Linked DNA regions of Homo sapiens: region 2 is linked to region 1. Evidence: promoter capture Hi-C in 16 types of primary human blood cells and fetal thymus (Javierre and others, 2016). All regions are on one chromosome and are shown on one strand. Each heading gives the region's core, a stretch centred on a gene start or on the middle of the fragment in contact. The rest is flanking DNA. Distances are from core to core; before and after follow the strand shown. Region 1 holds the start of ZNF30 (zinc finger protein 30). Region 2 overlaps LINC01801 (long intergenic non-protein coding RNA 1801).

Region 1 (5,894 bases), core at 2,158-4,657:
CTCAACTGAATTCCTCACATCTCAGAACTCAGGATTCTGTACTTACCTCCCACTGGGACGTATCTTTTCCAGGCATCACAGATAATTTTCTTCTCCAGCTATCTTATGATTCTTTTTGTATAATTTCATTAATCAACATTAACAGCCTTCTAGGAATTGCTCACTTCACAAATGTTTTTTGGAGGTAATCTCAGTTCCCTATGAAGACTCTGTCTCTGCACTTCCAGATGAGAGGAAAATCACTCCCAGAAAGAGATGAGACAATGGAATCCCAAGCCTTTATCTCAGCGTTCGGATGACCTCTCTTGACAAATGCACAAGATAATACAACTGCGGCCACTATCCTAGTTGGAAACACAATTTGGTAAGTGGTTATTCTTTTCAGATAAACGTATGGAACTTAGACGAAATATATTTCAGGAAATGCAGTGAGAAACATTATAAGGGGGAAAGTTCTGCTCTCCTAGATTAGAACATCACTGACAGTGGCCAGAGAAAGTTTCCTGAGGGATCAGGGACTGTCATTTTCCACTGGATGCTCAGATTCCAGCTGTAGGGTTTGTGAGTATCCTTCCTCCCTCTTCCATGAGACAGCCTCATCTGAAATCTCCAATTTACCTCTGACGATTAAACACCTAGACCCTCACTATAGTCACACAAGTCTTCACTCAAAACACAAGGGCATAGCAGTAAGATTGCGATCCTTAGCTGTCATCTATGGAGTGATCACTTTTGAGGGGCACTTTTTGAATAAATCATTTCAAAATCATTTCAAAAATTTTCTCAAAAAAAAAACCCTATGATTTAAAAATTTCTTTGACATTCTAAGTATTCTACTAATCTATTTTATTTCTACCCACCATGGAACCCACATTTCCCTCTGCAAAATACAAATTTCTATTGTATTCACCCCTCACCCCTGAACATAAATTTATCCTCCCAAACAAATTTCTGCCCAGATGACATTTTGACGGCTATTTACACATCCCCATCTCAGAGAGCACATTGTACATAATTTGGCCCTTAATGCAGCCTCTATGAAAAGTCCTTTAATCAGGGGACTAGATGAGTCCTTATTTGTCTTGAATGTCTCTAGTTCCTCCAGGACAGAAGTGATCAGTGACCACAGCCAGTTCAGGAATCACAGGATATTGCAAATTTGTCTCCGATTGACATGAATTGGGTGGATTCTCACTCCAGGTCTATCACCTTCTTATTTGTTAATGAAATATTTGTCTTCAGACATTGTAATAGATACCCAATGAGTTTCAGAGGGTTTGAAAATGAACACTTTAGACATGAATAGCCTATATGGTGAACTTACAGAGGCAAAGCGACTGGTCAACAAACAGCTGCTCTACCAAAAAAGCCTGGAGTTACAAAGCAGATGAACATTTTTGCAGAGCTGGAAACTAATTCCAATAAGGCTAAAAACTTGCTACTGCTGGTAGGGAAAATCCTAACTATTGACAGTCAAATGCTTTTGATGCGAGGCTACTTAGGTTGATGTTGATAAGAGAAAAGTTCCCTTGTCCCCCTGGCAGGGCGTGCGATGGGGGTGTGGCTCGCTTCTTCAGTGTCCCGCTGCTCAAACCTCCAGGGGAGTATACAGACGGGCGGGCTGTGGGGCTCTGACCCCATGGCAGTGTCTAGGGGTGAATGTTTATAGCTGAAGCCCCAGTGGGCGTGTTACAGGATGCTCTTTAGCTGTCCGCAGGCGGCTTATGTTAGTCAATTCAATTAGATCCCTGCGTTATCGCAAGGACAGAGGGCTTTCATATCCCGGGGTTCCTGTCTTGGTGTACCAGAAGAATCAGATCACACATGGGCTTGGAGGATGACTGCAGGGTTTTGAGTGGAAGTAGCTCTCAACAGTTGGGGGAGCCAGAAGGGAAATGGTTTTCCCCTGGAATCGGGCTGCTCCGCAGCACCGGCTCTCCTTGGACTGCCCCAGCCAAACTCCGCGTCCTTCTGGTGGGTGGCCTGCCCGCGTGCCAGCGTCTGTCATGTCTTCTTCCGCCAACATGTTCCTCTGGATGTCCAGCGGCTTGTGTGTCTGCTTGCTAGGGTCTCAGAGTATTTATAGGGACAGGATGGGGGCGGGAACAGGATGGGGGCGTGGCAGGCCAGGGTGGTCTTGGGAAACGCAACATTTGGGCAGGAAAACAAAAATGCCTGCCCTCACCTAGGTCAGTTGGCACAGGGCCAGGGGTGGAGCCCTAGCCAGGGACCACACCCTCCTGTACCCAGCACCTCCCTTTCCCCCTTCCATATCATTTAAAGGGACCCCGCCCTTCCCTCCCCAGCACTCCCCTTCCCCACCTCCTTATCAATGTCATCACCCTGGACTGACTCCAGGAATCACTGTAATGTGGGCTTAATAAGAACAGAGCTCGGCTGGCCGCGGTGGCTCACCCTGTCATCCCAGCACTTTGGGAGGCTGAGGCGGGTGGATCGCTTGAGCCCAGGAGTTCGAGACTAGCCTGGGCAAGATGGCAAAACCCCATTTCTACAAAAAATATACAAAAATTAGCCAGGTGTAGTGGCGCGCCCCTGTAGTCTCAGCTACTCTGGAGGCCGAGGTGGGAGAATCACTTGAACCTGGGAGGCAGAGGTTACAGTAAGCCGAGATAGCGCCACTGCATTCCAGTCTGAGCGACAGAGGGAGACCCTGTCTCAAAACAAAACAAAAACAAAACAAACAAAAAGCGGAGCTGACAGTCAAGGTGAATTTCACGTTTGCCTGTATTCAGTTTTAGCATTACATAAACCAAAAGAAGAATGCCATAAAGGCTACAGGCAGCTAATACAGAGAGGTGTTACTGGAAAAGGAACCAGAAAGAGTAAATATCTCCTAAACGTATGATGGGACAGAAAGATAAATGCCTATTACATATAGTTAATATCTGTTTGATTAGCCTTATTTACATTCTCCTTTTAAAAGGTCTTACATTTAGCATCTTAGATAGAACCCACAAAATTTAAATATTTAATAGAAACTTAAAATTCCTGTATCAGAGGACAGAAATATATTTTTCTCACACGTGATTAGTCTAATTGCCACTATTAATCCTATTAATATTCTGTTAAATAATAGCATTTCTGTAGCGAAAAGCAAACAGTACGGAAAGATAATTTCAAACACCTAGTTTTCATATTTTTGTGTTAAAGTAATAACATATTTTGGTATAGATTATCATTTTTTGTTTGTTTTTGTTTTTGCTTTTTCTGACCTGGTGTGTTAATGCCCTGGGTTGGCCCTCTAAGAAGCTGGCCACCTACTTCGGGCCTCAGGTGTCAGACGCCCCAGCTTCGAGGTCTATGGCTCCCAGCAACTCGAGCGCCTGCGCCTGCGCATTCTCAGCCGGACGGGAGCGCCCAGAAGTCTCCGGGCGCCGGTGGGCGGCCTTGTGGACTGCGCCGGGCATGCTCGGCGGTGTGACGGCTCAGGACTGCATTTCCCAGAGGCTGCAGCTATCCGGCCAATGTAGCCTGAAACTACATTTCTCAGCGGCCACTGGAACGACCTCAATCTCTGCCTCCTCGCCAGTTCATTGTGGTCGTTGACCCGGCAGCGAGCTTTGGAGTTCATCGAGGGAGAAGTCAGCGCCCAGCTCCGAGGTTGGAGCAGCCCCGCCGGGCAACTTGAATTTCTGCAAACGAACACAGCACCGGGAGCTCTGCAGACCTGTGTCGGCGCGGAACCCGGACTGAGACATGCGTGAGCGTTGGGTGGACCGGGCGAGGATCCCGGGCCGGCGAGTGCGGGAGCGGCAGGGCAGGGAGGGTGCGTCGGCCGGGGCCGGTGTGCATCCGCGAAGACTGGGTGCATGGCCTCCATGCGAACCTGAGCTATTAATATTTGTTACTATTTTGGATAAAATCACTGTAATTGATTTATGTAAAGGAGCAAAAGACTCTTCAACTCTCAGTTTAAAAAGGAAACGATAGTTATGATACCTTTTGCATGCAGCGGGAAGAAATGGGATTGCCAGGAAGCCTCTTCTTGTTTGGAAAAAACTGTATAAAGTATTTACACCTTTTAAAGATGAGAGCAATGTCATCTGAAAATTATCAGTGCAGGGAAAAGGACTTCAAAGGATCTGTTGTGCAGATTACTTAACTAATGACAAAATTATGTAAGAAAGGAGAGCAAGATGACAGCTGTAAACATTTCCATCAATCTCCATATTGCACAGAAATAGGACCCAGCTTTTTCTTAAGGTTCTTCAATTTTGCATTATCCCACAGCAGTAGCTCTCTCTCTCTAGCTGCTAGGGGACAGAGGAAATTGAAATGTCAGAGAATCTTTTCTGTTGGTTTTTTATTTGTTTGTTTTTAAAGAAGAGTTGCTCTTAATTTTTTAGTTAGAATTAAAAGAAAGCATGCCAGAGAAACTTACGTTTTAAGTAAAAAGTGGAAACAGGTCGGGTGCCATGGCTCATGCCTGTAATCCCAGCACTTTGGGAAGCTGAGGCGGGTGGATTGCCTGAGCTCAGGAGTTCGAGACCACCAACATGGCAACATGGTGAAACCCCGTCTCTACTAAAAATATAAAAATTAGCCAGGCATGGTGGCGTGCGCTTGTAGTCACAGCTACTTGAGAGGCGGAGGTGGGAGAAGTGCTTGAAGCTGGGAGGCGGCGGAGGTTGCAGTGAGTGGAGATGGCACCACCGCAATCCAGCCTGGGCGACAGAGCGAGATCCCTTCTCTAAAAAAAAAAAAATATATATATATATATATATATATATATATATATAGATAGATAGATAGATAGATACATAAATTAAATTAAGTGGAAACAAGTGTTTAATTAAAATGAAATAAAGGATGTATAATGTTTACGTAATAACTCCAATGCAGTAGTGCCCCCTTAATCGGCAGTTTCACTTTCTTCACTTTGTTACCCTCAGTCAACCATGATCTGAAAATAGGTGATTTTGGTACAATAAGATATTTTGAGAGAGAGGGGCCATGTTCACATAACTTTTATTACAGTATGCTATTATAGTTGTTCTATTTTATTATTAGTTATTGCTATTACTCAATTATGGTGGCCGGGTGCGGTGGCTCACGCCTGTAATCCCAGCACTTTGGGATACTGAGATGGGTGGATCAATTGAGGTCAGGAGTTCGAGACCAGCCTGGCCAACATGGTGAAACCCTGTCTCTAGTAAAAATACAAAAATTAGCCAGGCGTGGTGGTGGGCACCTGTAATCCCAGCTACTTGGGAGGCTCCCAGGAGGTGGAGGTTGCAGTGAGCCAAGATCACACCACTGCACTCCAGCCTGGGCAACAGAGTGAGACCCTGTCTCAAACAAACAAACAAACAGAAAAATAAAAATCTCTTATGGTGCCTAATTTATAAATTAAACTTAATCATAGGTGTGTATGTATAAGAAAAAACATAGTATATATGGGGTTCCGTCAGACATCTACTGAGGATCTTAGAGTGTATCTCCCCCCTGTGGATAAGAGGGAGCTACCATAGTAAGAGCTAACTCGGCTGCGCGCGGTGGCTCACGCCTGTAATCCCAGCACTTTGGGAGGCTGAGGCGGGCGGATCACGAAGTCAGGAGATGGAGACCATCCTGGCCAACATGGTGAAATTCCGTCTCTACTAAAAATACAAAACTTAGCTGGGCGTGACTATGCGCCTGTAGTCCTAGCTACTCGGGAGGGAGGCAGAGGCAGGAGAATCACTTGAATCTGGGTGGCGTAGGTTGCCGTGAGCCAAGATGGCGCCACTGCACTCACTCCAGCCTGGGTGACAGGGCGAGACTCCGTCTCAAAAAATAAAACAAAACAAAACAAAACAAAAGAGCCAACTCATGTTAAGCAAGTATTCTATTAACTTTTGGGGTGGGTTTTCTTATTCTTCAGGACAACCACA
Region 2 (6,220 bases), core at 1,927-4,426, 110 kb before region 1:
TTTCAAGGGCAATGCTTTTAGGAAGCTTCTCCCCCAGCCTCACTGAATGCCAGTCCCCTGACTATCACCCCACTGGTTCATCCAGACCACTGTGCTCCTCCCTCACTTCTACAGATACCTCAGTCTTCACTGACTAACTGATATGGTTTGGCTCTATGTCCCCACCCAAATCTCATTTTGAATTGTAATCTGAATTGTAATTCCCATGTGTGGAGGGAGGGACTTGGTGGGAGGTGACTGGATTGTAGGGGTGGTCTCCCCCATGCTGTTCTCATGATAGTGAGGGAATTCTCATGAGATCTGACGGTTTATAAGTGGCAGTTTCCTCTGCACTCTCTCCTGCCACCAAGTACGACATGCCTTGCTTCCCCTTTGCCTTCTGCCATGATTGTAAGTTTCCTGTGGCCTCCCAGCCATGTGGAACTGTGAGTTAATTAAACCTCTTTTGTTTATAAATTACCCAGCCCCACATAGTTCTTCATAGCAGTGTGAAAACAGATGAATATATCAACCCATCATTAACTGGCCAACCTTATCACTTCCACTGCCCAGTCAGCCCATCTGCAGACTTGACCTCCCAGCCTGCTTTGAACCTTTGAGATGACCGACATGGACACTACTATTCCCTGGGTCTCATCTCCTGGTCCCCCCAGGACCCAGGGTTAGCCTGGAAGACTCAAGCTCTGGGCTAGGTTTCCTCTGGTCTTGGAACTCCCATTTGACTGGCTCATTGCAGTGTGGAGTGGACAGCCCCCTGCAAAAGGCAGTCCCCACTAACCCACCTATGTTTATGGTAAACAGCCCTACCCCACTTTGAACCTTTCCTTTAGCCCAGAAGCCACCTCTCAGTCACATTTGGAGCTCCTAAAGGGCAGCAGCAAAGAGTCAGTCTTCTAGGATACCTGTCTGCACCATCATACTTATCACTACTTCAGCAATTGTCTGTTTTCTAGTAGCTAGGACCTTGACCAACTGGGCAGCCAAGTCTGCCTTTAACTCTGATGAAATCAATATGGTTACCATGTCCTCTTTCTAGCCTCCCCCTGGCAGGATCCCCCAATGTATTTGATAGCATTTACCCTTTGAGAAACGTAAAATCTCAATACAAGCTCTAAACTGAGCCTTTACTGCAGCCCAGACACCCAATGGGAGCATAATGCCATCAGATTTTGCGTACGTGTTACCTCCATATCCATCTTTGATATCTCTGCTAGCACCCACTCAGCCTTGGGTGGCACCTCGGGTCCTTTTCCCATTTGCACAGCCACTACTTCTAGCTCTGGAGCCATCACTGGATGCTCAGCATCAGGCACAGTTCACCTTTTGCTAACCCCTCTCTCGACCCATTTCCATTCATGGACTCTGGGGCTTCTTTGGATAATGACAGCTCTAGGACCAGTGTGTCTGCCCCAGACCCAGCTCCACATCTGAAGCACTCAGCTTTAGAACAGGGCCTAGAGGGGCATGCAGCACCTTAGTTTATGTTGGGGAGGCTTACACATGAGCACCGGGGTTCCTGCAAGCCTACAGCACCTCTGGTACAGTTGGAGAGGGCAGTACTACTGAAAGCAAAAACTCCTGGGAAACACTTTCCTCCCTGCCTACAGTCAGAGCAGCTGGGGCCTGTCCTGCCAAAGCACACCTCTTAGAACATCACTGAGAAGAAACATGTTCCAGAAGGCACCTCTGTTCCTTCTTGTGTTCATAACACCTGGAAACCATCTGGCCAAAGCACGTCTGTTGTGGTTGGAGGAGCCCGCACATACCAGTGCTTGGGACACTTCTGTCTTGCAGACAGACCACCTGGAATGCAGCTGGCCAGAGCACATCTGCATCCCTCAAAGGGAAGGAGAAAGCAGCACATCTATGCTTGGAGGCCTTTATGTTTCCACCACAAGCAGAGCACCCTGTTGCACCTTTCCAAGCACCTATGTTGCAGTAGCAGGGGACAACACACTACCTGTGACTGCAAGTCTTCTCTTCTTGTGTCTGGTCAGAGCGCTTGGGGCCCATATGGCCTGGGCAAACCTGTTACTGCTGGAGAAGCCTGCACAACAGAGAAGAAACATGTGCCCCAAGATACTTCTGTTCATGACTTCTGTCAAACGCCTTTGGACCACTCAGCTTGAGCACATCTGTTTCTGTTGGAGGGGCTGGTGCCATATCTGTGACTGAAGAAACTACTGTTTATGAATACAATCAGAGCATGTGAGGGCCATAAGTCCAGAGTATAGGCAGTGCAATGCCTGCAATGGGAGGAGATGGCACCATACCTGTAATGGGAGGAGATGGCACCATATATGGGTTTGTTTGGGGGGGACACTTCTGTTCATGAACACAGCCAGAACACCTGGGGTCCACAAGTCCTGAATTCAGGTGTACAATGGGAGGAAACAGCACCCCACCTGTGCCTGCAGAAACTTCTGTCCATGAATAGTCAGAGAGCCTGAGGTCCACAAGTCCAGATTAAAGATGGTGCAATGGCAGGACACAGTCCCACACCTATGCTTACTCGCGAATACAGCCAGAGTGCCTGGGTTCCACAAGTGAGGATTCAGATGGCAAGTAGAGGGTACAGTACCATTCAAGTGTTTGGGTACCCTTCTCACCATCATTCAGAGCAACTGGGACACTGGTGGCTGGAGCACACTTGTTGCAGTCAGATGGGAGAACATGTTGAAGAAGATACTTCCATTCTCACCTTCAATCAGAACACCAGGGGCCTAAGCCAGGGTACCTTCCCTCTTTCATTTTGGAGAAAACAACATCACTGAGAAAATATCTGTGCTTCAGGACCTTTTCCACCTGCTTTTGATCAGGTCAAATGTGCTTCTGTGGTGGGCACGGCAAGCACAGCCTCGTCTTTGGGGCACCCTCGGCACCTGCACAGGGATTCTTTGGGGACAGAAGCATGCAGCATCACCCTATTTGTTTTCTTCTCATGTAAGACTTAGGGTCCTCAGTGACCAAAAGCAAAAGCTTCCTCTAGAAATGGCAGGTGACCACTGTTCCCCATGATTTGATCTTGTTCTGCTGGGAGCAGTTTCTGCTCCTTCTAGTTACGGCAAACAAGCTTCACCTGCCCTTTGTCCTTCTAGCACAAACTGGAAGCCCAAGACCCTGGGGTGTTTGTGAATGTGTCCAAGGACTTGGGTTCAGATGAGCCAAGTCAGAAGTCGACACACTAGCCTAAGATGTTCACCTGTGGAGAGAAGAGAGAGATGGGTGAGTATCAGCCGTGCAACACTACACTCTAGTTTCAGTGTTATCCTGGAAGACCTAAGCTTTGGGGGGGTTTCCTCCTGTCTTGGAACTGTCAGGACACCCACTGCTATCTATGTCTGCCATGTTTCCTCTGCTCATGTGTTTTTGCTCTAACTCAATGATGGAGAAAATACTGACTTGTATAAGCCATGATTGTTGAGCCAGGCTTAACTGTGCAAAGTTTCTGTGGCCCAGGGCCCAGGATCTAGAACATGGAGTTTAAATGTCTTTTTTGCTTGTTTAATTTAGTTGTATGCCAGTAATTCACACACATTCACAATTTTTTTTTTGGCTGCAGGGGGTTGTGGGGGAGAGATGGGGATCTCATCATGTTGCCCAGCCTGGTCTCAAACTTGGCTCAAGTGGTCCTCCCGCCTTGGCCTCCCAAAGAGTTGGGATAACAGGTGTGAGCCACCACGTCCAGCAACATTCACACTTTCACCTATGGATGATTGGCTTGGCAATCAGGCTTTTGGGCCTGGAGGAAAAAAGGAAGAAAGAACTCACGCATGACTGCTCCGTAATTTAAAAAAAATTTAAGTCTGTTAGGATGTAATAGATTACATAGATATTGGTATCATGTTGCTTTGACACATTACAAATGATTATCTTTTAAGGTAAATAGCAGGATAGGTTCTATTTGGAAAAATAACTGGTCTATCTCGAGTCCTAACCACAAAAATATCGTCACAAGATTTATAATTTCACACAGACTTGGCTGACCTTGGAGTTGTACTGTGCTGAAAATACAATCTTTTTAAAGTATTTTACAACCCATGAAGGTATCTTAAGATGGTGGAAAGAAAAATAAAGTACAAGCATTTCCTTCAGCTGCTTACAGATTACAGTTGTCCCTTGAACAATGCGTGGGGGTAAGGGGTGCTGCTTCCCCCACGCAGTCCAAAATGTCTGCATGACTTGTGACTTCCCCAAAACTTAACCACTAGTAGCCTACTGTTGACTGGAGGCCTCACTGATAACATGAACAGTTAACACATTCTGTATGTTATATGTATTATATACAGCATACTTACAATAAGCTAGAGAAAAGAAAATGGATGAGTGGATCATCATAAAGGTTTCATCCTTGTCATTTTCATGTTGAGTAGGCTGAGGAGGAGGAGGAGGATGAAAAGGAGGGGTTGGTCTTGCTGTCTCAGGAGAGGCCGCAGTGGAAGAAAATCCACATGTAAGTGGATCTGTGCAGTTCAGACCTGTGTTGTTCAAGAGTCAATGTATTATATTAAACAGTGCTAGGTCTTGGTGATATAGAATTCAAAGATTTATCTCTTGCAGCCCAGCAATTTACAGTATAGCAGAGAGAGACAGATAGATAAACCAAATATTACACCTGGAAAGATAGTGGTGGCGATACGGGAGTAGGTAAGAAGGACATAAAACTAGGTGTGAGAGAGATGGAAAAAATAAAAAATAATAAAAAAAAGAAGAAGGAAGAAGTGTCCAGGCAGAGAAAGGCTATTTGGGGGTCAAAGAAATAGCATGCTAAAAGTCAGGGAAGACTAATCTGTGTAACAAACCTGCACATGTATCCTGGAACTTTAAATTCAATTAAATTAAATTAAAAGTCAAGGAAGAAAGAGATCATGACCCTGTGGGACACCAGGCAAGTAATCAAATGTGGTTGGAGAGTGAAACCCAAGCTGGGAGATGTGGCTGCTGTGTTCAGCAAGTGCAGATCATGGACAAACAGACATACCATCAGGGGGCATTTGTCCATTATCCACAAAGTATGAGGAATCGTGAAAGGATAAGCAAAGAAGTTACATGATATATGTAGATTTTAGAAACACTCTATGCCTCCCTGAAAGGAAGAATTAAATAGATGCCAGAATAGAAGCAGATAGGCTTAGGAAATTTTTTTGCAGTGATCCAATGCAAAAATGAGCCACTGAGCTCCCAGTCTAGAGGAACTGACAGTGGGATGGTTGAAGAGGTAAGGGAAGAGGCAAGGGGAAGTAGGCGATGCCAACAAGACCAGGGCTATTTTAGCCATCTGGTTTAGATAAACGGACATGAGTTGTTTTGGAAAACATACATTAAGTTAACTTTCTAATAGTCTGACATGGCTATGGAAGACGTAGGTGATATTCATAAAGCCATTCATTTACCCATTTAGTCATCAGTTGGGCATATATATTATTATTTGAGACAAAATGAGTAGTCTAAGGAATACTTTAGGTAATAGCATCAATTTTTTAAAAACAAGGATAAAAATCTTATGAAACCTAATTCTAGTTGGAGAAAATAAAATAAACAACAAATGTAATAAATTAGTAAATTATTTGATAGGTTCCAGTAACAACTGCAGGGAGACGAAGGGCAGCCAACGTAGGATTGAGTTTAGGGCTAGAGAGAAGTGTGAGTTTCTATTTAAATAGACTGGAAATGGTAAACCTCATTGGGAAGGTGGAATCTGAGCAAAGTCTAGAAGGCAACAATTAAGCAAACCACACAGTTATCTGAGGGAAAGGCATTCCAATTAGTTGGACTAGCCACTGTAAAGGCTCAGAGGAAGGATGTCTCTTGCCCGCAGGGAGCAGTGAGCAACTCAATAGGGGACCAGGATGAAGTTGGCACTTTGCAGAGTGGGAAGAAGGGGGAATAGAGATGGAGAGGGATGAAGAGACTAAGTGGGGCCTTGGAGGATGTGATAAGAACATTGCCTTTTACTCACAGATGGAAATCATGGAGGGTTTGGAGCAAAGGATGACGTGATCTGACTGAGGCTTAATAGGATCATTCTGGTTTCTGGGGATGAGAGACCATTTAGGTGGCTATGGTCATAATCATGAAAGCTTGGACACAGTGGTGGTGGTGCAGGTGATGAGAAGTAAAATTTGTAGATATTTTGAAGCATTTTCTGTTGGCCTGAATGGCAGGAGTATGTGTGGAAAAGGAAGAAGGAATCCATAGACTTGCTATTTGAGTTTAGAAA

Evidence for each region. Contacts are between HindIII fragments. The CHiCAGO score rates a contact against its expected background, and 5 or more counts as called.
Region 2: a fragment that was not itself captured here is called in contact with the fragment with the promoter of ZNF30 in region 1 in 5 of 17 cell types (naive CD4 T cells, total CD8 T cells, non-activated CD4 T cells and 2 more); the score reaches 6.3 in naive CD4 T cells.

Annotation. Positions count from the first base shown.
Region 1 is chr19:34,923,496-34,929,389 of GRCh38, forward strand. It overlaps ZNF30 (zinc finger protein 30), which reads left to right and starts at 3,408. Exons shown (of 5, transcript NM_194325.3): 1 at 3,408-3,721. ZNF30-AS1 (ZNF30 antisense RNA 1) reads right to left here and starts at 3,331. Exons shown (of 3, transcript NR_110749.1): 1 at 3,234-3,331; 2 at 47-339. The HindIII fragment of the contact is 20,354 bases long and covers 1-5,894 here.
Region 2 is chr19:34,814,289-34,820,508 of GRCh38, forward strand. LINC01801 (long intergenic non-protein coding RNA 1801) reads right to left here. Exons shown (of 6, transcript NR_033982.1): 5 at 4,299-4,478; 6 at 1,866-3,202. Among named protein-coding and RNA genes, the nearest start is that of LINC01801, 15 kb to the right of the region's middle. The HindIII fragment of the contact is 211 bases long and covers 3,072-3,282 here.